7 separate regions of the Homo sapiens genome follow, and regions 1, 2, 3, 4, 6 and 7 are each linked to region 5. Evidence: promoter capture Hi-C in 16 types of primary human blood cells and fetal thymus (Javierre and others, 2016). All regions are on one chromosome and are shown on one strand. The core of a region is centred on a gene start or on the middle of the fragment in contact, and the rest is flanking DNA. Distances in the headings are between cores, read along the strand shown. Region 1 overlaps ABCC5 (ATP binding cassette subfamily C member 5). Region 2 has its middle 14 kb from the start of MIR4448. Region 3 overlaps ABCC5 (ATP binding cassette subfamily C member 5). Region 4 overlaps LINC01839 (long intergenic non-protein coding RNA 1839). Region 5 holds the start of VWA5B2 (von Willebrand factor A domain containing 5B2). Region 6 overlaps PARL (presenilin associated rhomboid like). Region 7 overlaps ABCC5 (ATP binding cassette subfamily C member 5).

Region 1 (4,032 bases), core at 437-2,936, 310 kb before region 5:
GCCCTTGACAGCGACCTTGTTCTCTGCAGCAGCAAACATGGCATAGAATCGGGAACTGTCGTTGGACAGAAGGACCGATGGGGTGTCAAACTCCACCACCTGCAAAAGAAGGAGACGCCGTCAGGACACAGCTCTGGGTCATGCAGGGTGATTCAGAGGATCCACGGCTCAGTAAGTGCCAGTGCCCTCTGAGGGTAGAATCTGGGGACAATTCAACTAGCCCTGCGTGCACCTCCCCCCTTATTTTTTTATTTTCAACTATCCAGGGAGTAAGGGAAAGGACAGAGAAAATGACTTCCAGCATTTTTGTAGTATGTGGTTTTGCCTAATAAAGTAGTATCATAGCAAAAAAAAAAAAAGAAAACGACTTCCAGACCTCCTTCACATAAATCCAAATTCCTTCAGCCTTGGGAGTGAAGGAACCAACCAACCAGGTCTATAAACTGCAGGAGGCTGGTGGCTCACGCCTGTAATCTCAACACTTTGGGAGGCTGAGGTGGGCAGACTGCCTGAGGTGAGGAGTTCAAGACCAGCCTGGCCAACATGGTGAAACCCTGTCTCTACTAAATATACAAAAATTAGCTGGGCATGGTTGGCGGGTGCCTACAATCCCAGTGACTTGGGAGGCTGAGGCAGGAGAATCGCTTGAACCCAGGAGGTGGAGGTTGCAGTGAACTGAGATTGTACCACTGCATGCCAGGCTGGGCGACACAACGAGACTCTGCCTCAAAATAATAAATAAATAAATAAATAAATAAATAAATAAATAAATAAATAAAAAACAACAGGCTGGGTGCGGTGGTTGATGCCTGTAATCCCAGCACTTTGGGAGGTCGAGGCAGGCGGATCACCTGAGGTCAGGAGTTCGAGACCAGCCTGACCAACATGGTGAAACCCTGTCTCTAGTGAAAATACAAAAATTAGCTGGGTGTGGTGGTGCATGCCTGTAATCCCAGCTACTGGGGAGTCTGAGGCAGGAGAATCGCTGGAACCCGGGAGGCGGAGGTTGTGGTGAGCAGAGATCGTGCTATTGCACTCCCAGCCTGGGCAACAAGAGCGAAACTCCGTCTCAAAAAAATAAATAAATAAATAAACAAAATAAAATAAATAAACTGCAGGGGAGAGAAGTTGCAGCTCAAGTCAAGGGCACACCAGACAAATGCCATTTTGTTATGCAAGCTGATCTAACCTTATAGAGGGAAATGGAAGAGCTCAGAATGTCTAGTTGTCAGGGGAGAAAAAGGAAGTCAGGGAGTGACTTAGTCAGGTGGCCATTCCTATGATGGACTTCTATGTAGCCGTGGAAAATCATGTGGCAGCAGAACCCTGAATGATACGCTGGCAGAACCCACCTCCTGTGGCAGAGGCTGAAATGCATGTACTCAACTTTCTCAGCCGCCCCCGCCACAGGGCAAAGGCATGGAACATAACCTTGTTTAAGGAGATGTAAGAGGAAGTCTCCTTGGTGCTTTAGGAGAGGGTGTCCTGCTCAGTGGACAGGCCACAAGGAGAACATAAGCGTGTCCTTCCTTTGGACACGTGTCCTTCCTTTGGTTGGGTGCTTGAGCAGGCATCCTGTACCAGCAGGGGAAGGTGAGTACTGGCTGAGAGTGATACAGAGCCCCACACTGCTGAGCTGCACAAAAACCAACCCATGTGGGATAACAAAATCCCATCCTCCAAACCCCTTTTAGTCTGGTATTTTGTGTCTGCGGCAGAGAGCATCCCATCTGTTGGAGTCTGTGTGTGCAGATGCAAGAAAAACACAGCTGGGGTAAGTCAGTGTATTACAATGCTCGTCTCTGGGGGTAAATGGCTTATCATCCTGTTTTTGCCTTTATGCTTTTCTGGTGTGTGTGTGGTTTTTTTTTTTTAGGCTTTCCTGAAATTACAAGGAAATTTTAATTAGCAAGAAAAAAATTAAGGGAAGAGAAGGATAGAGTCCCTCATAAAGAGTGAATGGGCTCCCCACTCCAAAACATCAAGCCACCCATCGAAAGAAAGGGGTCTCAATTTGTGTTCTTAAGAAAAAATTTCCAGCTGGGCACAGTAGCTTGTGCCTGTAATCCCAGCACTTTGGGAGGCTGAGGTGGGCGGATTATCTGAGGTCAGAAGTTCGAGACCAGCCTGGCCAACATGGTGAAACCCTGTGTCTACTAAAAATACAAAAATTAGCCAGGCATGGTGGCACATGCCTGTACTCCCAGCTGCTCAGGAGACTGAGGCAGGAGAATCGCTTGAACCCCGGAGGCGAAGGTTGCAGTGAGCCAAGATTGCACCACTGTACTCCAGCCTGGGCGACAGAGCGAGACTCTGGCTCAAAAAAAGAAAAAAAGAATTTCCCAGAAGATGTTCTTGGTCCCATCTATTATACCTTACTAGGCTCTATTTTAACACCTACTTACAAAGTAGTAGCTCAACGTATCTTATGTATGACAGAATCTCAGTCAACACTTAGTTTAAGGCAAACAAAGATAGTCACAAAAAACACTAGTGTGAAAATAATTTCAAGATGAGGAGAAAAATCCTTAGCCCCCAAGTTCTCTCAATTCAGCTTTGAAGCCCAGGCTGAACCTGCGCTATTTAACCTTTTCTCAATATTTCTCCACAATTTAGACAGTGTGCTGGCAGTGCGGTTGCTGGCCTGAGTCCTGTCCCATCTCCTCCGCTTCCTTTTTTTTTAAATCCCACCAATTTTTACTGTTTGCTTTTTTTTTTTTTTTTTTTTTTTGACATGAGGTCTCACTCTGTCACCCAGGCTGGAGTGCAGTGGCGCTATCTCAGCTCACTGCAACCTCCGCTGCCTCCCAGGGTTAAATGATCCTTCCACCTCAAATTCCTTAGTAGCTGGGATTACAGGTGTGTGCCACCACTCCTGGCTAATTTTTTGTATTTTTGGTAGAGACGGCGTTTCGTCATGTTGCCCAGGCTGCTCTTGAACGCCTGAGCTCAGGCAATCTGCCCGCCTCGGCCTCCCAAACTGCTGGGATTACAGGCATGAGCCACCGTGCCCGGCCTACTCCACTTCCTATGGACTTTCCCTGAGACTTTGTCTCCTCATGTGTAAAGCAGAATCCAGGCTATGTCTTTCTCTAGGTTGTTGTGATGACTGATGGTATGTTGAGAGATTATATGTAAAGCACTAAGCACAGTGCCTGACACACAGTAAACATTCAGTAGAAGTAGCTATTATAGTAGCTGTCACTGTGGGAGCTTCTACAATAGAAGACATGTTACCCATTATAAATGGCTTGCTATTTCCTCCAAATTATTAATTTACTTGTATCCTAGGGGCATGCAAAAGAGGTATTTGTCTAACATAAATGTACTTAACATCACCTGTATAAAGAACTGTAGTACTAAGCACTGCTGGGGCCCTAAAGATGAATGAGCGGTGACTCTGCCCTCAGAGAGCGTTCAGGGAGTTCTCTAGGGAGACAGGGCATTGCACAATTCCTATCAACTGAGACAGAAGAGCTACAAGAGAGGTACAGATACAGTCTAGGGCGGCTGAGGCAGCCAGGGGGTTTCATGGAGGCTTTGGCATCTGGGCCATGTCATTCTTCAGGGACAGGCAGGTTGAGAGCAGGTGGATATGGGAGAGAGAAGGGCAAAGGGCCTTTTAGGTAGATGGAACTATCTGACTAAAGACAGATAAAAAGCTTGGAGAATGCAAGATGTCTATAGCCAACCGCACCTGCAAAGGAAGAGTGGAAAATGAAGAAGGCAAGGCTAGGGCCAGGCTGTGGGAACGCCTGAAACAACAGGGTAAGAAGTTTGGTGCCGCTGCGTGATTGCAAAAAAGCAAACATGTGCTGGCTGGTCTCAGTAGGCCTCCGGGAGCGGTAATCATTGTGTATGTGAATGAATCACTAAGTACATGTACCAGGGATGATAATTGTGTATGTGAATGAATCACAAGTATCTATACTCTCTGGCCTAAGTATGCCAGGGGTGATCATTGTGTATGTGAATGAATCACTAAGTACATGTACTCTCTGACTTAAGTCAGTGTCGCTACTCACAAGCAAC
Region 2 (3,789 bases), core at 186-2,685, 330 kb before region 5:
CAAGACCAGCCTGGCCAACCTGGTGAAACCCCGTCTTTACTACAAATTAAAAAAAAAATAAAAATAATAAAAATTAGCTGGACGTGGTGGCACGTGCCTGTAATACCAGCTACTTGGGAGGATGAGGTGGGAGAATTGCTTGAGCCCCGGAGGTGGAGGCTGCAGTGAGCTGAGATCACACCACTGTACTCCAGGGCAGTACTCGGGGCAGAGCCAAAGCTCCTTTCCGAGGAAAGTCTCAGGGCTCCCGCCACCACCTCTATGTACAGAGGCATCACCCTGCACCAGGGCACCAAGATGAGTCGCTCTGTTTCATTTTCATTAAAATGGCAACCTCACCACCTACACATGTTGGTATGTTACCTGTTGCGGGAAGTCAGGGACCCCGAACGGAGGGACTGGCTGAAGCCATGGCAGAAGAACCTGGATTGTGAAGATTTCACGGACATTTATTAGTTCCCCAAATTAATACTTTTATAATTTCTTATGCCTGTCTTTACTGCAATCTCTAAACATAAATTGTAAAGATTTCATGGACACTTATCACTTCCCCAGTCAATACCCTTGTGATTTCCTATGCCTGTCTTTACTTTAATCTCTTAATCCTGTCAGCTGAGGAGGATGTATGTTGCCTCAGAACCTTGTGATAATTGCATTAACTGCACAAATTGTAGAGCATGTCTGTTTAAATGATATGAAATCTGGGCACCTTGAAAAAAGAACAGGATAACAGCAATTGTTCAGGGAATACGAGAGATAACCTTAAACTCTGACCACCGATGAGCCGGGTGGAACAGAGCCATATTTCTCTTCTTTCAAAAGCAAATGGGAGAAATATCACTGAATTCTTTTTCTCAGCAAGGAAGATCCCTGGGAAAGAGAATACGCGCCTGGGGGTATAGGCCTATAAACGGCCCCCCTAGGTGTGCCTGTCTCTTATGGTCGAGGCTATAGGGGTGAAATAGACCCCAGTCTCCCATAGCACTCCCAGGCTTATTAGGAAGAGGAAATTCCCGCCTAATAAATTTTTGGTCAGACCAGTTGCTCTCAAAACCCTGTCTCCTGATAAGATGTTATCAATGACCATGGTGCCCGAAACTTCATTAGCAATTTTAATTTTGCCCCAGTCCTGTGGTCCTGTGATCTTGCCCTGCCTCCACTTGCCTTGTGATATTCCATTACCTTGTAAAGTACTTGATGTCTGTGACCCACACCTATTTGCACATTCCCTCCCCTTTTGAAAATCCCTAATAAAAACTTGCTGGTTTTTGCGGCTTGTGGGGCATCACGGAACCCACCGACACGTGATGTCTCCCCCAGACGCCCAGCTTTAAAATTTCTCTCTTTTGTACTCGTCCCTTTATTTCTCAAGCTGGCCGACGCTTAGGAAAAACAGAAAAGAACCTACGTGACTATCGGGACAGATTCCCCGATAGTTACCCCAGTTAGCCTTGACTCCCAGGATACACACCTTTGTGTAATCCCCTCCCCTTGAGGATAGGATGGATTTAGTAACTCACTTCTAACAAATAGAAAATGGGCCAGACGCAGTGGCTCATGCATGGAATCCCAGCACTCTGGAAGGCCAAGGTGGGAGGATCACTTGAGCCCAGGAATTTGAGACCAACCTAGGCAACATGGTGAAACCCCATCTCTACCAAAAATTTAAAAATTAGCCCATTGTGGTGGCACAATGTGGTGCCTGTAGTTCCAGCTACTCAGGCAGCTGAGGTGGGAGGATCACCCAAGCCTGGGAGGTTGAGGCTGCAGTGAGCTATTATTGTGTCCCTTCACTCCAACCCAGGCAACAGAGGGAGACACTGTCTCAAACCAACAACAACAACAACAACAAACCCAACAAATAGAATATGGCAAAAGCGGCCGGGTGCGGTGGCTCACACCCGTAATCCCAGCACCTTGGTAGGCTGAGGCAGGCCAATCACTCGAGGTCAGGAGTTCAAGACCAGCCTGGCCAACATGGTAAACTCCATCTCTACTAAAATATACAAAAATTAGCCAGGCATGGTGGCACATGCCTGTAATCACAGCTACTCGGGAGGCTGAGGCAGGAGAATTGCTTGAGCCCAGGAGGCAGAGGCTGCACTGAGCTGAGATTGCACCACTGCACTCCAGCCTGGGGTGACAGAGCGAGATTCTGTCTCAAAAAAAAAGAATATGGCAAAAGCAATGGGATATCACATCTAAGATTAGGTTACAAAAAGACCATTGCTTCTATTTTGGGTGCCCTCTTGCTTGCTCTCTCTGATGGGGTTCAGCTGCCATGTTTTGAGCTACCCTATGCAGAGGCCCATGTGTCAAGGAACTGAAGGTCTCCAGCCAACAGTTCATGAGCAACCGGGTCCTGAAGACCTCCATGTAAGTGAGCTTGAAGTGGAGCCTCCCCTAGGGGAGTCTTCAGGTGACACTGTAGCCCCAACAACAACTTGATGGTAACCTCATGAGAGACCTTGAGTCAGAGGCATCCAGCTGAGCCACACCCATTTTCCTAACCCTCAGAAACTGTGAAATGATAAATGCTGTTGTTCTAAGCCACTAAGTTTTGGGGTAATTTGTTACACAGTAAGATAGGTAAGTAATTCAACATCTGTCATCTAGGATCTGCAAGGCTCCGTCAACAATACAGAGCACCATTGTACCGAATGACACCGTGGGCACAAAGCCCTCAGCACACAGCAAGCCTGGGCAAAGAGCAGGTGTCCTCATGTTATTGTCCAGCTCACGTCAAAAATCTGCTCGGAAAGCTATCTCAAGCTGGATCACCAGAGAGCTATCATCTTCAACTATGCTCGAGACCAACCTGGGCAACATGGTGAAACTGCATCTCTGCAAAAAAACAAAGCAACAACAACAACAAAAACAACGAAAATTAGCCAGGCATGGGGGCTCATGCCTGTAGTCCTAGCTACTCGGGAGGGTGAGGTGGGAAGATCGATTGAGCTGGGAGATAGAGGCTGTGGTGAGCCGTGATCGTGCCAATGCACTCTAGCCTGGGTGACAGAGCAAGACTCTGTCTCAAAAATAAATAAATATTGGCCGGACGCGGTGGCTCATGCCTGTAATCCCAGCACTTTGGGAGGCTGAGGCAGGCAGATCACTTGAGGTCAGGAGTTCTAGACGAGCCTGGCCAACATGGTGAAACCCTATCTCTACTAAAAAATACAAAAATTAGCCGGGCATGGTGGCACACACCTGTCATCCCAGCTACTCGGGAGACTGAGGCAGAATAGCTTGAACCTGGGAGGCAGAGGCTGCAGTGAGCCAAGATTGAGCCACTGCACTCCAGCCTAGGTGACAGAGCAAGACTCCATCTCAAAAAAAAAAAAGAATAGAGGTTAAAAATAAATAATTATTTATATAAACTTCAACTGTGTTATTTTGGCTGACTGTAGGAATGAAAGGAATTTTATCTCTTAAAAGGAATTGAGATAAGAAGCAGCTGCCATCTTGAAGAATATTTCTGCATCTTTTAAAAACTCCTGCTTAAATCACTGCCACTACATGGTCCACTGGCCCACAAAAGAATATTGTGAATGATGATCCTTGTCATAACTTACAGGCATGTGATAAGCCAAAGCTTTCCTGATACAGGCATGCTTCCTTTTATTACATAATAACTCATAATTAATCGAGATTTCCTTTTTTCCCTTCACTCCAATGAAATTCAGACTCGAGTTTTATGTACATATGTGGCAACTGTTCTTGATTTGACTTATTTTTATAACTTTCTTCCTCTCTCCTTATTTGGCACTTGTTTTCTTAACCTTGCTA
Region 3 (3,528 bases), core at 950-3,449, 260 kb before region 5:
TGTTTGGGTATCTCATCCTCTTAACTGTACACTTCTTTACGTGCAGATTATTGTCTTATTCCTTTATATTCTTAGTGCCAAACAGTGTCTGCACATGTCACTGGCACATAATAAACACCTAATAAATGTTACTAAATGATTAAATGAATAAATCAGTTGTCAAATATTCAATTAATTCAGAGGTTTTCAAACTGGAAGTTGCATCAGAATTACCTGCAGGGTTTGTTAAAACAGACCTTTGCGCCCCACCCCTAGAGTTTCTGATTCAGTAGGTCTGGAGAACAGCCTAAGAATTTGTGTTTCTAACAAGTTCCCAGATGATGCTGATGCTGATGCTGCTGATCTGGGGACATGGATTTAAGGACCTCTAAAGTAATTAAACCATTCACCAAATCTGGTTTGAGGGATTTAACTGAAATCAGCTAAATAAAGGTGCCAATCCCAGAGACCTTCAGGGCAATTCATGGGAGACAAGTTTTAACACTGAAGAGCACAAATTAGTTCCAAAGACAAGCCTCTGGAAACTGCTGCAGGGCAGAGACCCAAAGAAATGTGGATTTGTTCTAAGGGCTCTTTCTAATAGAAAAGGGCTCTCTACAGACTATCTGAGTTAAGGAGGTTGGCAAAATCAAGTTCAAGGAAGATGCTCAACATGCACACGCTTACTTGTAGTTTTAAAAATATCTGGATAGAATAAAAAACATCAACTCTGAGTCAACAATGGGATTTTGTTTACAATCCCCAAGACACAGAAAATACTTACAACCTTAAAACAAGCAGTGTTAACATCCCTGCCCTAATGGACACATGCTTTCCTAACACAAAGGCCTAATGACAGCCTAACTCCCTGTGAGGCTCTTCTCCCAAGCATTTCAGTTGCACTCCCAGGAGCAGCTCTGGCCCAGCTCTGCCACTCTGCTAAATGCCTGGTCAGGGGCGGAAGGCCTGTACCTCCGTCAGGTCGCTGCTGGGAAGAATGGCCAGGTCAGGCCTCAGGCAGCAGCTGTTCAGCACAGAGTTGTATCTGGAGGACACAAAGAGACAGCGTCAGGGACACGGCGGGAGCAGAGCCTGCTGACTAGGGCTGCCTTGCATCTCACGCGGCCAAGATGGAAAGCATGACAGAAGCCAAACATTCCTTGCCTTTCTTCATCATATTCCTTCCCAAACAGGATGTTGTCTCTCAGAGTAGCATTGAGGATCCAGGCCTGCTGGGCCACATAAGCGAAGGTTCCACTGATTGCAATGCTGCCCTCTAGAAGCGTCATCTAGGGAGAGAGACACCATCCAATGGCATCATAACTCAAAACCATCACCCTATGCCAACGGAACCCCCACCTTCCACAATGGAATCTAGCTCTGGTAATTTCCCGGGATGCTTTTTGGACCCAAATCCAGATTCCACCTTTAATTCCAAAGAGAGCTAAGCAGCAAAGAAAATCAAAGTTCTCCTTGCTTATGTGTGATGGGAGCTCAGCATAACCCATAACTTGAAGGCAAACACTTCCCTCTGCAGCCCATTTGCTGTGTGCAAACTGTTTAAATTAGGAGAAGCACAAGCAAGAGGTTCTTGCAGAATTCTCCTGGAGAGGATGCTGTAGGGGTTTCCAGCTAATCCCTGCCTCAACATGGGGGCAGGCCAACTCATCCAAGGCAATTACCTAGGATGCTGGCTAGACCAGTTGCTTCTATGAAATGAGGACCAAGGGAAAAAAAAAGTCCAGGTTAGACATCACCTAGTATTTATAATATATACACAGTGTCCATTTACCAATGATGGACCTTGCCTGCCCACAAGCAGTGATGAACCATGTGCTTTGAAGTTTGTGTTCAGTTGCAATGGTTTGATATGAATTGACTTATCCATTTTACCCCCTTCCATGATTTCTTTTGTTTGGGACTGATAGTAGACATTTGTCTTGGTTTAGGGATGCTACAGCTTTGAAGCAAAGTTTCACTAACCAGCCTGTGCAGTACTTGTTCATATAAGCTGGTCTTCTCAAACACCCTCACACAGCGTGTACACACACAGGTGTACCTACGTACACCACAAACTGGTAGCATTCTGATGTGCACTTCAAAGGGTTCAGAAGTCCCCAGGGGGTCTACTGTGGAAAGCCGGCACTTCTGGCTGCTGCACAAACACCGCACATTGCAGCGCTATCAACAGATGTAAACTACAGTTAAAGCAGGGCTGACCAGCCCAACCCGTTTCCCTGCCAGAGACAGGGTTGCCAGGATTTGTCCAGAAGCAAAGCCTGACTTGGTTTTCAACCTAACCACTGCCTAGTCAACCCTGGAAAAAGGAGCACATTGCTAGATGGCAGAGCAGCACTTACGAATTGACCTTTTCTTTCCTTCTCCCCCTCCCCCCATCTCTGTCTCTCCTCACTGGCCCTCCAAATCTGGTTGGTCATCATAAATCACCTAGGAAGTCTGGTGCTTTTTACAAGACCAATGGCTGGGCCCAGCCACTGGAGAGTGTCATAAAGCAGAAGGTGGAGGTGATGCCTGCCATGATCTGACTCAGACAGCCCCAGGCACCACCACCCTCAAGGAGGACCACAACTCACCAACTGTGACAGCTGATGCCAAACAAGACAAGAAAGCATTCCATAATCTGGGGGCTACAAAAGCACCCCTGCTCCCCCTCTGTTTCATTTCAATTCAGTGGACCTTATCCATCAGGGTGTAGAGATAATCATAAGTTTATGCTCATCTCAACCATCTAAGTCAAGTTAATTTAATTCTAATGTAAAAGCATGTGGGCACCTTGTTTTTTTTTTTTTTCTGGATTGTTTGATTCTAAAACACAGCAATGATAGTGTGTCTCAGTGGGATGACTCCGGCCCCATCCTGTCCCTCACTCTCAGCACTGGCCACCGTGTGCTGGGCCCTGCACGCTGTTCACTCCCTGCCTGGAGATGTGCTTGTTGTGTTCTCAAGGCCTTGCTCCCCACTGGACCATGAACTCCCCAAGGGCATGACTCTTTCAGGGATTAGGCAGAAAACAGAGGGGCTTTGCTTCTAGATCAAACCCTGACAGTCCTGTCTGACAGAGAGGCTGGGAGTGCTGGCCGCCCTGCTTCTTTACAGGTTAACTCTGTTGGCAGCGCTGCAGTGTAGGGTGTCTGCTCATCTCTTATCTCTGACATTTTCAATACACGGGCATACCTGTGGCACTCAATAGATACATGCTGAATGAAAGAAGGCATGAGACCAAATGGTTCCAGCTGGGACAACAGTCAGTCATCCATCAGGCGCCCACCAGGCCTCCTTCCAGGCAGAAGGCTGTGAAGGGGGAGAACTGGGGGGAACTGCGGGGGATTGGGGGCATACAATGCAGGCTGAGGGTTCATTTGTTTCCACCTTTCCTGACTCTCCAGGAAATTTGTTCGTTTTTCCTGAGACTCTTGCAAACCAGAGAAAGCAGCAGAAAAGGACAATAACAAAAATCTTACCTGGCCTAAAATGGCTGAAATGAGAGAGGTTTTTCCACTTCCCACACTGCCACAGATTCCAACCAGT
Region 4 (3,550 bases), core at 484-2,983, 300 kb after region 5:
GCAAAGCCAGCATTGCAGATGACTGGAAAAGGATGAGCTGTCCAATAAATGCTTTGACAATTATTATCCAAGGAGAAAGATGATCTCTCCACCACACCTTTACAAAGAATCAAATCCAGATAGATGTAAGACCAAATATAAAACGACAAAATTTAAAAACTTTTAGAAGAAAGTGTAGGGAAACTTATATCTTGGAAGAGGAAAAGGTACTTTAACCATGTCAACCAAAGTACAAACTTTAAAGAAAGAGGTAAATTAGAATATGTGCAGATGTAAATTTTCTGTGTCTTGAAAGACATCACAAATAGTTATAAGATAAGCCATGGAGTGAATGACAATATTTGCAACTCATCCATCTGATGAAAGATTAAGATACAAAATTTATAAAGAATTCTTAAAAACCAACAAGAAAATGTCAACAACCAATAGAAAAATAGGAAAAAGTTATGATCAAGACTTTACAGTATAAAAAATACCAATAAACATAGGAACAAATGCCTGACCTCTAACCCCATGGTAATTAGGGAAATGCAAATTTAAACCATGAGAAGTAACCACACCCATTACACTGGAAAAGAACTGACGTGATGAGAGGCAGTGTTGAGGGCTGGGAGTGTTACTACAATGACTCATCTGCTGCTGGCAAGATCGCTTTGGAGAACGACTGGGCAGTAATTTGTAGCACTGAAGTTAGGCATCCCTTGCAATGTCTGTGGCCAATGCTAGGTGCACTCCATAGAAACTCACATGTGCACAAGAAGACACAGACCAGAATGTTCATCGCGGCACTGTTTGTAATAAGAACAAAATGGAAACATTCTAAATTTTCACAGCAGGAGAATGGATCAATACATTTAGTATGATATTAACAAGTCTACTATACTGCAGTGAAAATGATTTTTTATTTCTTAAAAAACAACAAACATATGTAGTGCCATGTGCCAGGCTCTGCTCTACGTTTTTGAGAAATATTAAGTCATATTTACTGAATGAACCAGAGCCAGATTCATCAACATGAGTCGACATGGATGAATCCCCAGAGCACCAAGTTGACTTAAAAAAGCAAGTCAAAGGAGTGTGCATAATACTTTGTCATATATGTCAAGTTTGAAATACTTATATAATGTTTAGGAATCCACTCATATGTAATAAAGATAGTGAGAAGTCACCTCAGGGATGAGGGTGAGGAAGGTGGTGAAGAGGGTCCCTAAGGGGCTTCAGCAGTGAGGTTGCTCCATTCCCCATGATTATTGATGGGTAAGTTCTTCTCTATACCTTGATATGTATCTGAAATAGTTCATAAAAAAGTTTTTTCAAAAGAAAAAAAAAGCACCCATTCCTATTTAAAATGTATTTCTTCCAGTCTTTCCACTATGCTTAGTTTATATACTTGTGATTATCTTGTGTATACAAACTCACCTTGTGCCTTTTACAGAATGAGAAAATTTCCTTATACTATCGAAAACTTTTCAGAAATGTTATCAATGACAGAATGATATCACAACTGTGGATACACCATAATGTATTTATCAGTGCCCAACTAGTTGATTCCAATTTTAGATAATTTTTTTTCTCATTTTTCAGTGCAAAGAATGTCTGTGTCCATAAAAGCTTTGGGGGAATATTTGGGATTATTTCTTCTGATGCATGACCACTACTAGAACCACAATATCAAACAGTGTGAGCATTCAAAGACTCTAACTCTGTATTATTACATTTTGCCAAAACAGCTAGACCAGTTCCGCCCCCCTCCCCCGTCCCTGACTGTGCCCGGATCACTCCACTTCCTCTGTAGCTCTGTCAGCCCTAAACAGTTTCCTTTTAAAAAGCCCTTACTATTTTGATCGGTGACAATGGAAGCTTATTTGTATTGTTTTGAGAACACCCCCCACAAACGCACGTAAAACCTCTATAAAGGGAGAACCGCCTTGCTGCTGAGGGCGCGGTGGGACCCGTCGCAGGGCCAGCTGCTCCGGCAGGTGCCCCCAAAGGGTCCCGCAGGTGATCCTCGGGGACTGAGCGCCCATCGCCCTTCCTACGCACTCAGATCCGCCGAGCCCAGCGCCCGCCAGAGCCCAGAGAGTCCTCGGGGTCAGAGTGGTCACGTCACCGTCATTCTTTTCCTGCCCGACTAGTCGCTCTGGGCTCCCCGGGGCCGGGGGCCGGGGGCCGAGCCGCCGCCCCGATTCCGGCTTCACCCGCCCGCAGCGCGCGGCGCCCCGCGCTCCATTCGCGCTACCTGGCGGCTGGCAGGCTGCCCCACCCCACCGCGGGCCACACACAGCCAGGGTGGGACCCCGGCCGCTTTCTCTTTCCCAGGGAGAGGACTGGAATTTGGGGGGGAGGTGGGAATTGAGGAAGTCGGGAAGGGAGGAGTAGAGAGGTGGGTGAGAAGGGGGAGGATGCTTCTAGAAGGCGGGTGAGGGAGCTGGGGAGGCCAGGAAGGGGAGGAAGGGGTAAGAGGTGCGGGAGGGCCTAACGGGGAGACTCCGGGGGCAATCAGTGGGTATTCACAGGGAGCTGGGCGCGAGCATCAGCGGGATGAAAGGCAGGTCAGGGCTTGCCCGTCAGGTCCGGACTGCGCCCTGGAGGGGCTCCCAGTAGAGCCTGCGCAGGAGCGCGGGGAGCGCGCAGCCCAGGCCTCTGGCCAGGTGGAGCAAGAGGAGGGCGGAGGTGGACAGCGCATCTCGCCCGTGGAGGACGGGCAAGGACGCCGCCTGCCCAGCTGTTGGAGTCTCCTGGGCACGGACTGAGGGGGAGGGTCTGAAGAGCCCAGAGATCCCAGAGGGACCAGCTTCTTGTTACAGGGAAAATCCTCACCACCGAGAGATGCAATGAGTGAATCACGGTCTAGCCCTGTTTGGGAGACTCTGTGGCCATTAAAAATGGCGATGCTCCCCAGAGTGTGTGGGGCACAGGAATCCTCTAGGGGGCTTACGAAAATGCAGATTCCGGTTCGGGCCTGACATTCTGCTCTTCTCACAAGCCCCCTGGCTCCTGCTATTGATGTAGAGCTAGCTTTAGATTGTACGGTAAAGGGAAAACCAGTAGGTGTGGGATGAGCCCATTTTGGTTCTTTGAAAAATGTGTTTCTTACACAAACACACAAACACATATACATATGCAGGAAATAAGATGCAAAAAACAAGAAAACACCAACTATGTTTTTCCCTAAGAGATGGGATTCTAGTCGATCTAAATTTTCTACTTTTTGCTTATCTCTATTTCCTGAATTTTCTTCAGTAAACATACATTCCTATTGTAAGAAAAAAGATTCTCGCAAAACCGTAGAAGTTACTTATTTCAAGGAGAGTGTAGGAGTCAAGGGAAAGCCTCCTTTGAAGGTTTACTAAAAATCACTGACAAAAGGCAGATTAACGGGAAAAAATGCATACAAATTTATTTGATCACAGTTTATGTGACATGGGAGCCTTTAGAATGACAACCCAAAGATACAAGAGAAGCTGTTTTTTGTTTTTGTTTTTGAGACGGAGTCTCTCTGTCGCCAGGCTGGAGTGCAGTGGTGCGATCTCGGCGCACTGCAACCTCT
Region 5 (3,898 bases), core at 163-2,662:
AAGGGGGAGAGAGGTGAATGGAACCATGACCCAGGTAGTATGGAAAGAGGGCTAGGACCCAGCTGGAGCTCCCTGTGTGTTGGGTACGTGTGACTGTGTCTGTGCTCCCTGTATCATTCCTGTGCATTTCCACCCATGAAATTCCCTGGGAAAAGGTCAAGCTCTCTCCACCATGCTAAGTAGGGTGAGCAAAGGAGATGGTTGGGGTTGAGGGCTCAGATACTCAAGGAGGCAGGGATCCCCCGGGGGGATGATCCCTGGTGATAGTGATTGAAATCAGAAGGAGAGAGTTAATGCGGAGGAGTGAGAACCATGGGCCCGACTCGAAAGCTCACTTCCTACTGGCTGTCCTCCATCCCCAGCTCTCCTCAAGCTCTCTCTGCAGAATCTCAGTATGGCATCTGCCAAAAAGCTTACATGGATGATCCCCAAACATGGTCATCTCCTCTCACTTCCCCAGGGCTCTCAGACTCTTCCTTGGGGGACCTGGGAGAGGTTTTCCGGACCTTCCTACTTTTTGACAGCATAACACTGTCAAGCACATGCAAAGTCTGCCAATAACAAGGGGCCCTCCTGACAAGCAGAGATGTTTTCTCTTCAGGGCTGCGGTGATGGGTGGGGGTCACTGCTATGAGGGGACGGTCTGCAGCCATAAGAAGGCTCTTCAGGCTAGAAGGCTTCACTCCCAAGGCCCGCACAGCTGAAGAGACCAAGGGGTTATAGGCTGAGGGCGCTATTGTGCACACCCTCCCACCCCAGCAGAAGTGGTTGGCACTGCAGCGATGCCAAGGCCGGCTGCTTGGGGGTGGGAGGAGGTCGCTGCAGTGATGAGGAATCCCTGCTTGGAGTGAGTGGTCACTGAAGTGGCTGCATGAACTAAAAGTACCTGCAGGGATGGGGGAGGTTTTCTGCAGTGATGAAGAGCACTTTGCAAAGGAAAGGGGCCAGCTTCTTGGGGGAAGAGTCCTGCGGTGACGGTGATGGGGGGCTGGGGGGTTCGCTGCAGTCAGGAGGGAGGGTCTCTGCAGCGATGGGAAGCAACCCAGGGCAGGGGGTGGGGTGGGCTGGGGAATGGGATGCCGTCGTGGTAATGGGATAGCTGGGGTCGCGGCAGTGTCGGTGGCACTTGCAGGACGCCTGATTCCTGAAGAATGGAAAGGGTGGGGTCTCTGAGGCCTCGGTCCTGCAGTGACGGGGATCCGTGCGGCGGCGGGGACGCGGTCCCTGCACTGCGGTGCCCAGTCTGGCTCGGGCTGCCGCGGCTGGCGCGGAGGCGGTACCGCGCCCGAAGGAGGGGGGAGCGCCAGCCCCGCCGCAGCAGCAGCAGGCGTGGCCAGGGCAGGCTGGAGGGGCGGCCTCTCGGAACGGGGGCGGGACCACCGCCGGCAGGGCCCGCGCCCCTGCCGGGACTCAGAGCCGCTGCAGCCACAGTCACGAACTGGCGGCCGGCAGGTGCCGGGACCGAGGGCCACCCGGAGCGCAGAGGCGGCACCACCCACACGGATCCCGTGGGCACCTAGAACTCCGCGGAGGGCGCGACGGTGAGGCTGAGACTGCCACAGGGAGCGGGGCGATCCCCAGAGCCAGCCCGCGGCATCCCCTGCGCGGGCCGCGGCCACTGCAGGTGCCCCCTCCTCCCACATCAGCTCTGCCGGGGTAGGGAGCGGTAACCTGGCGGCTCCCACGGACTCTCCCTGGCCCGACACCTCTCCCGGGCTTGCCTCCCAAAGACCCCCTCTTTTCGCTTTCCCAGCTCGTTCTTCCCACCCTTAACCCCTCCACTCCGGCCAGCACCCCCGTCGGATGAGGCACCAGGGAGAGAAAGACCAAGGCCCTTTCGGCGCCCCATCCACCCTGCCCCCGCGATCCCTCGCAGGGCCGGGGGCCTCCGGGGGGATTCGGGCCCTTTAAACCTCCGCCTTCCCGGAGCATCTTCCATCTCCACCCGCGCCGCTTCCGACAGCTGGCGGCCGCGGGGGGCCCCGGGGGGCCGGCAGGTACGGGGGTGGCTGCGAGGTTGGGAGTGGGCGGTGGAACAGCTGTGACCGCCCCCACCCCCGGGGGAGCCGCGGCGGGACTGCTGGGCGCCGAAGCGCGCGTTAATCATTAACCCTCCGCGGCCCGGCTGCCCAGGTAACGCGTGAGGATGCCCTCCTCGCCACCACGCCTGCCGCCCCCTTATCTCCCCCGCCACCTGTCGCCCTCAGGAGCTCCCGCTCGGCCTCGCGCCCCGGCAGGCCCCGTCCGGGTGCTGGAGTGAGACTCTCGCGCTGGCCTCTGGAGCGCGGGGTGGGCGTCCCGTCACCCTGCGCCCAGCTTCCCCGGCCCGTTCCCGCAGGGCCGGCCTCCCGGCGCCATGCCCGGCCTGTACTGCCCCTCCAGCTGGACGCCGCTGCCGCTCACGGACTCCTGGGTCCGGGCCTGCGCCAACGGCCCCTGCCTCAGCGTGCGGGCCCGGCTCACCTACCGCAACCCGCAGCCGCAGCCGGTGGACGGTGAGGCCCGGGTGGGGCGCGGGCGCGGCGGGGGGTGCGCCGGGCAGGGTCCGACGCCGCCTCCCGCCGCCCTCCCCAGGCGTGTTCGTGTACCCGCTGGCCGAGGCCGAGGTGGTGTCCGGCTTCGAGGCCGAGGCCGCCGGACGGCGCGTCTCCTTCCAGCTGCAGAGCCGGCGCCGCTCGCAGGCCGCCTGCTGCCGCGCTCTGGGCCCGGGGCTGGGGACCCCGACGCCCCGCCGCTGCGCGCAGGGTGAGTTCCGCGCGCCCGCACCCGCGCTCCTGAAAGCCGGGCGCAGCTCAGGCTCCCGCATCCGCTCGGCCTCCGCCCGTCCCCCGCCTTCCTCCGGGCACTGCCTTGTGCATTCATTGGCTCATCCTGGTATTTAGCAGTCGTGGGCTGGGCACCTGACCTGCGCCAGGTGCTGGGAGAACATGGCCCGGAGGTTCACAGCCTGGGAGACAGACACAGCAGGCAGCACAGGGCTTGCGGGGGCGCCAGCAACCCTTACAGCCCAGGAGACCGGTCTCTCTAGGGGGCTGCAAAGGGAGCCTTCTCCCCTGGTGGTCCCCTCCGGCCCCTTACTATTTTAGGCTGCACACCTCAATCCGGCCCCGCGTGGGCCAGTGAATCAAGTGTAGACTCCTGTGCCTAGCAGCCAAGGCCCTCGCTCTCACCCCATTCCATCCCTCTCCCAGCGACCCCATACACCAGGTACCGCTGCCGCTGGCCACACTGACTGACAGGTCCTTTCCCAACTCTCTGCTCTGTCTTTCCATCTTCTATTGAGCAAATTCCTACTTGTCCTTTAAGATCCACTAAACGTCATTCCTAGGGAAACCCTCCCTGACTCTCCCACAAATAGCTGCACTGTTTCCTGGCTCCCCAGCCTTTTGTGCCCCCTCGTTATGGCACTTACAGGGGGAGTCATTGTCACAGATCTGCCTGTCTGTCTCCCCGCTGGAGCATCTCCAAATCCCAGCACCTCACACAGAACCTGGCACTATGAGGCCCAGCGAGTGCCCGGGGAAGGGACAGAAGCCCAGCCCTGTGCTGTGTGCTGTGCTTGCACCTGGTTCTTTCATTGATTCATTCATACATGGCTTTGATTCCTGCCCAGGGGATTTGCAATCCAGGTAAGAAGAAGAGGAACAGAATCCAGTGGTGTTGAGAGCTGGCATAAGCCCAGCACGTTAGGGGCTTGTGGTTAGAGGCTAGAGTGAGCTCTGGGCTGAGGCCCCAGGAATGTTCCAGAAGGAGGTAGAGCCAGCATTTGACTGCAAGAAAGGGTAGGACTCAGTTAAGTGGAAGGTAGGGGCAACAGTATAAGCAAATGCTTATAAGTAGGTTACAGTGGGTAATGACAATAAAATATCTCATGTTTATAGTGATTTACAGTTTACAA
Region 6 (4,075 bases), core at 846-3,345, 400 kb before region 5:
ACTGGGAAAAACTGCTTCACTTAGAATAGATTTTTCTTTTTTTTTTTTTTGAGACAGAGTCTCACTTTGTCGCCCAGGCTGGAGTGCAGTGGCGTGATCTCGGCTCACTGCAAGCTCTGCCTTCTGGGTTCACACCATTCTCCTGCCTCAGCCTCCCGAGTAGCTGGGACTACAGGCGCCCGCCACCACGCCCGGCTAAGTTTTTTGTATTTTTAGTAGAGACGGGGTTTCACTGTGTTAGCCAGGATGGTCTCGATCTCCTGACCTTGTGATCCGCCTGCCTTGGCCTCCCAAAGTGCTGGGATTACAGGCGTGAGCCACTGCACCTGGCCAGAATAGATTTTTCTTTTTAATAAAAAAAAAAATTAAGTTTTCCATTGTCGCGGAACAAAATAAAAACCAAGTAAGGGCAAAAGGCAACATTTATGTAAGAAAAGACAGGCCCCGAGGGGATCCAGCTCATGCTGACGGGTCTCCCACGATCAGATGGACGCCAAGAGTCCTGACCGTGTTTCCGTGATACAGTTACTACTAAGCACTAGTCTAGGCAAAACCCCATTGTTTGAAGCACACGTGGAAGGTCTTGTAACCACAATGCCATTTGCTGTGACCCAAGGAAGCAGTTTAGCAACCAATTCCATATGGTGTGGTGGGGGTGGAAAGGGCTTATAGAGGTGGGTTTACAGCTCTGCTCTGCTATTGAAGAGCTGTTTGGCCTGGGGAAGATGATGTCTGAGCCTCAGTTTCCCATCAGTAAAATGGGAGTAGTAATAGTATAACATAAGGGAACTAGCTTGGTGCCTGCATACAGCGGGTACTCAGTAAGTGGTCCACATTGGTTTGCAGTCACCGGCCTCTACTCCAGTCATACAGAGCAATGGCTCCGCCAACTCAGCATGTCTAAATAGCACTGGCGAGACAGAGGTCAGGGTAGCAGGGTGGGACGCCAGGCAGGGGAGAGGAGGGCAGGAAAGTCTGAAGGGGAAAAAGAAGATGTCAGCATAGACTGGGGGCCAGGCTGCAGTCTTCTAAGAGGGGGCTGGGAATAACAGGCCAACAGTTGGGGCAACTTAAGGTTAAGCGTAGGGTAAAGGCACAGACTGTCTCTACAATGAGCCAGGTATGCTGGGTAAACCCAAAGCAAGCCACGTTGAGGTTTCCTCACCCTCCCAAGCCCACCTGCTTCTGCTTCCGTTGCATAGTTCAATGTCTCTGCCATGGGGATGGGGGGTAGGGGTGAGGCTGGGGTAGGAGGAGCGCATGACCCAAGGAAGCAGTTTAGCAATCAATTACACTCAAACTTACATTCCAAAAAGAGCTCCCCCAAGATGTGCCGCATGATCAAAAAATTTCCATCCCAGGATCATTCCTGCTGTATCCATGGCGATAATGGCTTTCAGGGCCTGAAAGGCAGCAAGAAACAAGCGGCACAACTGTGATTGCTCCAGCACTGACATTTCTAACTTAAGGGCAAGAACCCACTCAACATAAAAACATCACCACTATCCCCAGCACTGCACTTCATAAAAATACTTACATTCCCTGCTGTGAACGTGAACATCGGAAGGAAAATAATGGCAAGCCTCCCTTCTGGGATCTTAGTGCAGACAGCTGCGAGGACTGTCATGATGGCACCAGACTGCAAAGTAACACAGCAGGGAGAATGGGAAACTCAATATGCAACTGCTTAGTGGCTACAAGGTCTAAAGAGCAGCACATTTTCTAGAAAGTTTACATGCTGCACATTTCTAGGTGAGCACAAAGCTTCAAAGCTTTCAGTTACTTATGTCCCCAATAATAGGTGAAGGAACTAAATGTCCTTCACACAGTAATCGCTTGGAAAGACTGAATTTTTACTACGGGGCAGTAAGATGTATGTGCCTCATGAACCGCAAGGACAGTGCTAAGCGTGTCATGCGCATCTTTCACCTATGGCCTAGGAAAGAACTGCTCACACTTCTCTGACAAAGCTCCAACCAGAGGGAGTGGGCATGAATACGCCCAAAGAAACCTGCATGCATGAAGCATGTTTCATCTTAAAAAATTCATGTGAAATCTTTATTCATCTTCATAAAGAAACAAAACATTGCCAGTGTGGTGGCTCACGCCTGTAATTCCAGCACAGTGTGAGGCATGAGGATCCCTTAAGCCCAGGAGGTCAAGGTTACAGTGAGCTATGATTGCACCACTGCACTCCTGCCTGGGCAACAGAGTAAGACCCTGTCTCAAAAATAATAAAGGAATAAACTGATACACAGAACATGGATGAGTCTCAAAGTAATTATACAGAGTAAATGAGGCCAGGACAACAAATACTAGTATATGCTGTATGGTTCCATTTGCAAACTAATTTATCTTTAGTAGAAGTAGGTAAGTTGTCGCCAGGGGTAGAGGAGGGGCAGGAAGGAGTGACCACTAGGAAGCTTTTGGGATGAATATGTCCATGATCTTGAGTGTGGTGATGGTTTCACGGGTGTCTACATGTCAAAGCTTACCAAACTTTAAATATGTGCAGTTTTTTGCATGTTAACTAGTAAACCTGAGTTGCCTGCTTTTTAAAAAGACTACATGGGGCTGGGTGCAGTGGCTCTCGCCTATAATCCCAGCACTTTTGGAGGCCGAGGCAGGTGGATCACCTGAGGTCAGGAGTTTGAGACCAGCCTGACCAACGTGGTAAAACCCCGTCTCTACTAAAAATACAAAAAAAAAAAAAAAAAAAAAAATTAGCTGGGCGTGGTGGCGGATGCTTATAATCCCACCTACTTAGGATGCTAAGGCCCGAGAATTGCTTGAACCCGGGAGGCAGAGGTTGCAGTGAGCCGAGATTGTCCCACTGCACTCCAGCCTGGGTAAAACAGCGAGACTCTGTCTCAAAACAAAACAAAACAAACAAACAAAAAAGACTTTATGGGAGTCCTCTGTACTATTTCCTGCAACTTTCCATAAGTTTTTAATTATTTATGAATGAGATGTTTAAAAAAAAAAAAAAGACACCTAAGAGCAAAATAACTTTTGAAAGAAGCCCCTATCATTAAAAAGAAAGGTTCCTACCTTTTCATATAAAAACGGTTGTTTCTGGAAAATAGCATCTACCTCTCTTAATCAATGTTTTCTTAATGTCTTCTATGTGACGGGTTGCTTCAGAATACAAGATTATCTTACATTTGGGGAATTACTAAAACTTTAAAGAAAATTATTATGAGTCCCAGAGATCTCAGATGTCCCCAGTCCCTCATATAACTGCCAAGTGGCCTCAACAGGGAAACAAGCTCGGGTTGCATTCTTAGAAGTCAGGGTAACTGCAAGATGGAAGGACAGCATGAACACTCCTCAAAAGGAGGACCCAAGAAGACCTGAATTTTGACCAAGCTGGCTTCTGTGCAAGAGACTATAATTGTAGCCGGGCACGGTGGCTCACGCCTGTAATCCCAGCACTCTGAGGGGCCGAGGCAGGTGGATCACCTGAGGTCAGGAGTTCAAGACCAGCCTAGCCAACATAGTGAAACCCCGTCTCTACTAAAAACACAAAAATTAGCCAGACGTGGTGGTGGGCGCCTGTAGTCCCAGCTACTCGGAAGGCTGAGGTTGTGGTGAGCCAAGATTGAGCCACTGTACTCCAGCCTGGGCGACAGAGTGACACTTTATCTCAAAAAAACCCCAAAACAAATCAAAATTACACGTTTCCCCAAAATGAAGCAAATATAATTTGATTAGTTGATATGAAAGAGCATTAAAATTCTATGAAGTTCTGCCAGGCACAGTCGCTTACACCTGTAATCCCAGGACTTTGGGAGGCTGAGGCGGGCAGATCACCTGAGGTCTGGAGTTCGAGACCAGCCTGACCAACATGAAGAAACCCAGTCTCTGCTAAAAATACAAAATTAGCTGGGCATGGTCGTGCATGCCTGTAATCCCAGCTACTCAGGAGGTTGAGGCAGGAGAATTGCTTGAACCCGGGAGGCAGAGGTTGTAGCGAGCCGAGATCGCACCTTTGCACTCCAGCCTGGGCAACAAGAACGAAACTCCATCTCAAAAAAAAAAAAAAAAAAAAAAAAAAAAAATTCTATGAAGTTCT
Region 7 (3,805 bases), core at 1,306-3,805, 280 kb before region 5:
GGGCAGACATGAGGCCTTCCACCCCTCCACCACAGCAGTTTTTACTGAAATTCTTTGAGATAGGATTCTACCATTTGATAATCATTGGCTTAAATCCAAAGGAAGAAAACTAATATTTACTGAACATCTGATTGGATCCTGGCATTCTGGCATGTCTTGGTCAATCCAGGAGACACAGACTCTAATTCTAATTTTGCCACTGTGTGACCTGGACAGATCACCACTTCTTCTGCATCTTAGTTTCTTATCTGCAAATTGTGGGGACTGGATTAGATGATCTTGAGAATCTATTCCAGCTCAAAATGCTGTGATATAACTGCTTGGGTAATTTTTATCATCAACAATCATATCTCATGATCTTTTAAAACTCTCTGGCAATTGGCCATGGAGTATATAGCCTTATGGGGGGAAGTAAGGGCCAAAGACTGTAGCACTCTGGGGGGTTAAGCCTAAAGTCTAAAACTCCAAGCTGGAAGGACTCTGTGTTGGGACAGTCAGTGGGAGGGCAGGCCTCTGAAATGTGACCGGTTTCAGCAGGGTCCACTTTGTACCACCACTGACCGTAATCCTAACCTCTCCAGCACAAGGCTCTCGCCAACCATAACATTAACTCAAACACTGCACATATGTACACACACGGGTCATCTACACACCAGGACAGTGTGCAAAGAGGCTAACTTCTAAACATGAAAGAAGAGCTATTACTAGATACACTGGGCAGCCACCTGCCATCCTTTCTGAGAATAAGAAAGTTATTCATTTGTAAGCTTAAGAAATATTCTACCACTAATGAGGCTCACTGTCAAAACAATCAGTGAAGCACATCTCTATTAGAGAATCCAGTTTACGTACACTCAGTTCCCAATTGAAAGAGTAATTTTTCAGGCCGGACACTATGGCTCCTGTCTATAATCCCAGCATTTTGGGAGGTGGAGGCAGAGGCAGATCGCTTGAGCCCAGGAGTTTGAGACCAGCCGGGACAACATGGCGAAACCTATCTCTACAAAAAATACAAAAATGAGCTGGGCCTAGTGGCGCATGCCTGTAGTCCCAGTTACTTGGCGGGGCTGAGGTGGGAGGATCACTTGAGCCTGGGAGATCGAGGCTGGACTGAGCCGTATTCATGCCACTGCACTCAAGCCTGGGTGACAATAAGACCCTCTCTCAAAAAAAATAAAAAAATAAAAAATAAATTAAAAAAGGAAAAAAAGAAAAAAAGCTAACTTTTCAAAACTATGTTTCAAAGTCAAGTGTTGGGAACTCAGAATATACTCTTCACATATAAACAATGACACAGATGCTTGTAAAGTCTCACAGCAGTTCAATAAAATAGATAACTCTTAAGAATTGAGTTCAATTTGAGAATCTAACTACTCATGATGCTGCTTCTTTATAAGCAAATTTGTCCAATCTGTGGCCCTTGAGCCACATGCAGCCCAGGACAGCTTTGAATGTGGCCCAACACAAATTCGTCAACTTTCTTAACATATTATGAGACTTTTTTTTGCCATCTTTTTTTTTAAGCTCATCAGCTATCGTTAGTATTATTTTATGTGTGGCCTGAGACAATTCTTCTTCCAATGTGGCCCTGGGAAGCCAAATGATTGGACACCCCTTGATGTGGTTTGGCTCTGTGTTCCCACCCAAATCTCATCTCGAATTGTATAATAATCCCCATGTGTGAGGGGAGAGGCCTGGTGGCAGATGACTGAATCAGGGGGGTGGACTTCCCCCTTGCTGTTCCCGTGACAGTGAGTTCTCAGGAGATCTGGTTGTTTGAAAGTGTGTGGCACTTCCCCCTTCTCTCTCTCTCCTGCTCTGCCATGGGAAGATGTGCTTGTTTCCCCTTCACCTTTCGCTATGATTGTAAGTTTCCTGAGGCCTCCCAGCCATGCGTCCTGTTAAGCCTTCGGAACTGTGAGTGACTTAAACCTCTTTCTTCATAAATTACCCAATCTCAGGTAGTTCTTTACAGCAGTGTGAAATGGATTAAGACATCCCTGTAGGAAATTGTTTAAGAGTGCCAGTTAGGACAGCAGCAAGATGCCTGCCACCCACGGCAAGACGGAAGGGGTTCCTGGGGAAAGGTGGGAAGAGCTGGATACTCTGGTATCAATTAAATTTACTCGTTTGTAAGTTGGGAGAGCAGTTTAGAATTCGCTATGGAGCTTTTCAAACTATAGAAGCCTGGGTCCCACCCCAATCCACTGCAACAGAATCCAGAGATGAGGCCACGTTTGTCCTGCCAAAAGCTCAGCAGGGGGTCCTGATGGCCATCCCTGATTAAGAACAATTGGACATAGTAAGAATTAAAACAATACATGGTTTTAAACAGTGTAAGGAAAATGCTCCATTAGTCAGTTAAGCTGAACTGACAAGGTTCTGAACATTCTGGAAATTAGCCAATGAAGTTCTCAGCTCGACATAATTTACAAATATACTTAGAAACTCTTACGGTAATCTCTTTCCCATTCCAAGCACGGTTGAGAGATTGCTGGAGATTCTGTGGGATTAGATAGGCAGAGAACACAAGCCTCCTCCTTGTACACCCAGCTGAGGCAGCAAAGGGTAAACCGACTCCAAGAGGAGTCAGATCACGGTAAAAGGCCTACAGCAGTCTGACCTTAATGTAGTGATTGATCCTCTCCACCGAGGTGAATCGAGCTTCTGTCTCAGATGCCAGTCTGACCGTAAACTGGAACAGCCCCGTTAACTGATAATGGAAAACAACAATCAAAGAGATAATTCATTATCAATACACGCCAGGCCAATGCTGGAGAACTTCCTTCATCTAGAGGACTACTAAGAACTGAGCACATGCAGCAGCTGGTCTTAGGGACCTAGTCATTCTCTTGGCTTTTAAGGCATACCTGTTACCCCATCAACTGCAATGCTCAGTGAATGCGGGCAGTATCATGGCACTGCTGGAACCACTTCCTTGTACCCAAAGCCTTTCTATTCATCTTTACATTTCCAATAACACATATCTGCAACTGATTCACTTCTGGACTTCCTACTTGTATCTGAGCCTGTTTGTGGGAGTCACAACAAATGGAGATATCAACCTATGAGCAACTAGTAAGAATGTTTCCAGGAAAGTCAAATCAGATACATAATGCTGGGAAATGAGTGAGTCTGGAGCCCCTGTGCTCCATAGACTGCGGAGTCTAAAAACAGTCTATATAATGCATTGTCTTCCCCAACCAGTTGTCAAGTAAATTGCAAAATGTGGCTGGACATCTCGGGGTATCTGTGAAGACACATATCTCTGGGGTTCCTTTGACTATTTATTTTTATCTTTTCAATAAAGAAAAATGTCAAACACACAAGAGTAGAAAGAGTAGTATAATGAACTCCCAGGTACCAAAACTCTACCATAAAAATGATCAACTTACAGTCAATATTGTTTCATCTGTATTCCCTTCCATTCCTACCCCCACCCCCCATATTATTTGGAAGCAAATCGCAGAGAGCTTATCTCATCCAAATATTTCAGCTTGTACCTCTCTAAAATATAGACTCCTTAAAAACATAATTCCAATACCATTATTTTAGAGGGTAATAATAATCACTCAACATCTTAAAATATCTAGTCAGTGCTCAAGTTCTCAACTATTCTCTGAGCTATTTGAAGACCCTCAATCACCCCTAGGGGCTAGAAGGTTTTATGTATATAACAGTATTGGGAAAATCAGGGCCCTGAGAAGAAAATGCACGTAAGAAGCATATTGAGTCTATAACATTTCTTAGAAGACTAGAAAGAGGCCAGAGATGAAATGGTGGTGAACACAGAAACCCACAATTA

The links. The method cuts DNA at HindIII sites, captures the fragments that hold promoters and counts their contacts. A CHiCAGO score of 5 or more calls a contact.
Region 1: a contact is called between a fragment that was not itself captured here and the fragment with the promoter of VWA5B2 in region 5, in 3 of 17 cell types (M1 macrophages, M2 macrophages and M0 macrophages). The highest score is 10.9, in M1 macrophages.
Region 2: a contact is called between a fragment that was not itself captured here and the fragment with the promoter of VWA5B2 in region 5, in 16 of 17 cell types (M2 macrophages, M1 macrophages, M0 macrophages and 13 more). The highest score is 21.6, in M2 macrophages.
Region 3: a fragment that was not itself captured here is called in contact with the fragment with the promoter of VWA5B2 in region 5 in 2 of 17 cell types (M2 macrophages and M1 macrophages); the score reaches 5.7 in M2 macrophages.
Region 4: a contact is called between a fragment that was not itself captured here and the fragment with the promoter of VWA5B2 in region 5, in 1 of 17 cell types (naive B cells). The highest score is 6.0, in naive B cells.
Region 6: a fragment that was not itself captured here is called in contact with the fragment with the promoter of VWA5B2 in region 5 in 1 of 17 cell types (erythroblasts); the score reaches 5.5 in erythroblasts.
Region 7: a fragment that was not itself captured here is called in contact with the fragment with the promoter of VWA5B2 in region 5 in 1 of 17 cell types (M1 macrophages); the score reaches 5.6 in M1 macrophages.

Annotation. Positions count from the first base shown.
Region 1 is chr3:183,921,303-183,925,334 of GRCh38, forward strand. ABCC5 (ATP binding cassette subfamily C member 5) reads right to left here. Exons shown (of 30, transcript NM_005688.4): 30 at 1-99. Among named protein-coding and RNA genes, the nearest start is that of MIR4448, 37 kb to the left of the region's middle. The HindIII fragment of the contact is 3,947 bases long and covers 1-3,660 here.
Region 2 is chr3:183,899,052-183,902,840 of GRCh38, forward strand. It overlaps the pseudogene CYP2AB1P. Among named protein-coding and RNA genes, the nearest start is that of MIR4448, 14 kb to the left of the region's middle. The HindIII fragment of the contact is 4,315 bases long and covers 1-3,593 here.
Region 3 is chr3:183,964,234-183,967,761 of GRCh38, forward strand. It overlaps ABCC5 (ATP binding cassette subfamily C member 5), which reads right to left. Exons shown (of 30, transcript NM_005688.4): 12 at 3,462-3,528; 13 at 1,144-1,268; 14 at 952-1,024. Among named protein-coding and RNA genes, the nearest start is that of ABCC5-AS1, 40 kb to the right of the region's middle. The HindIII fragment of the contact is 6,780 bases long and covers 1-3,528 here.
Region 4 is chr3:184,523,403-184,526,952 of GRCh38, forward strand. All of the region lies in intron 6 of LINC01839 (long intergenic non-protein coding RNA 1839), which reads left to right. Among named protein-coding and RNA genes, the nearest start is that of LINC01840, 32 kb to the right of the region's middle. RefSeq lists enhancers at 1,594-2,398, 2,399-3,201. The HindIII fragment of the contact is 249 bases long and covers 1,610-1,858 here.
Region 5 is chr3:184,228,173-184,232,070 of GRCh38, forward strand. VWA5B2 (von Willebrand factor A domain containing 5B2) reads left to right here and starts at 1,413. Exons shown (of 20, transcript NM_001390846.1): 1 at 1,413-1,541; 2 at 2,208-2,495; 3 at 2,575-2,745. The coding sequence starts at 2,357. RefSeq lists a silencer at 1,181-1,520. The HindIII fragment of the contact is 8,832 bases long and covers 411-3,898 here.
Region 6 is chr3:183,832,187-183,836,261 of GRCh38, forward strand. PARL (presenilin associated rhomboid like) reads right to left here. Exons shown (of 10, transcript NM_018622.7): 8 at 1,538-1,639; 9 at 1,306-1,403. Among named protein-coding and RNA genes, the nearest start is that of MAP6D1, 8.6 kb to the left of the region's middle. The HindIII fragment of the contact is 651 bases long and covers 1,771-2,421 here.
Region 7 is chr3:183,943,227-183,947,031 of GRCh38, forward strand. It overlaps ABCC5 (ATP binding cassette subfamily C member 5), which reads right to left. Exons shown (of 30, transcript NM_005688.4): 24 at 2,624-2,713. Among named protein-coding and RNA genes, the nearest start is that of MIR4448, 58 kb to the left of the region's middle. RefSeq lists an enhancer at 1,679-1,768. The HindIII fragment of the contact is 3,580 bases long and covers 766-3,805 here.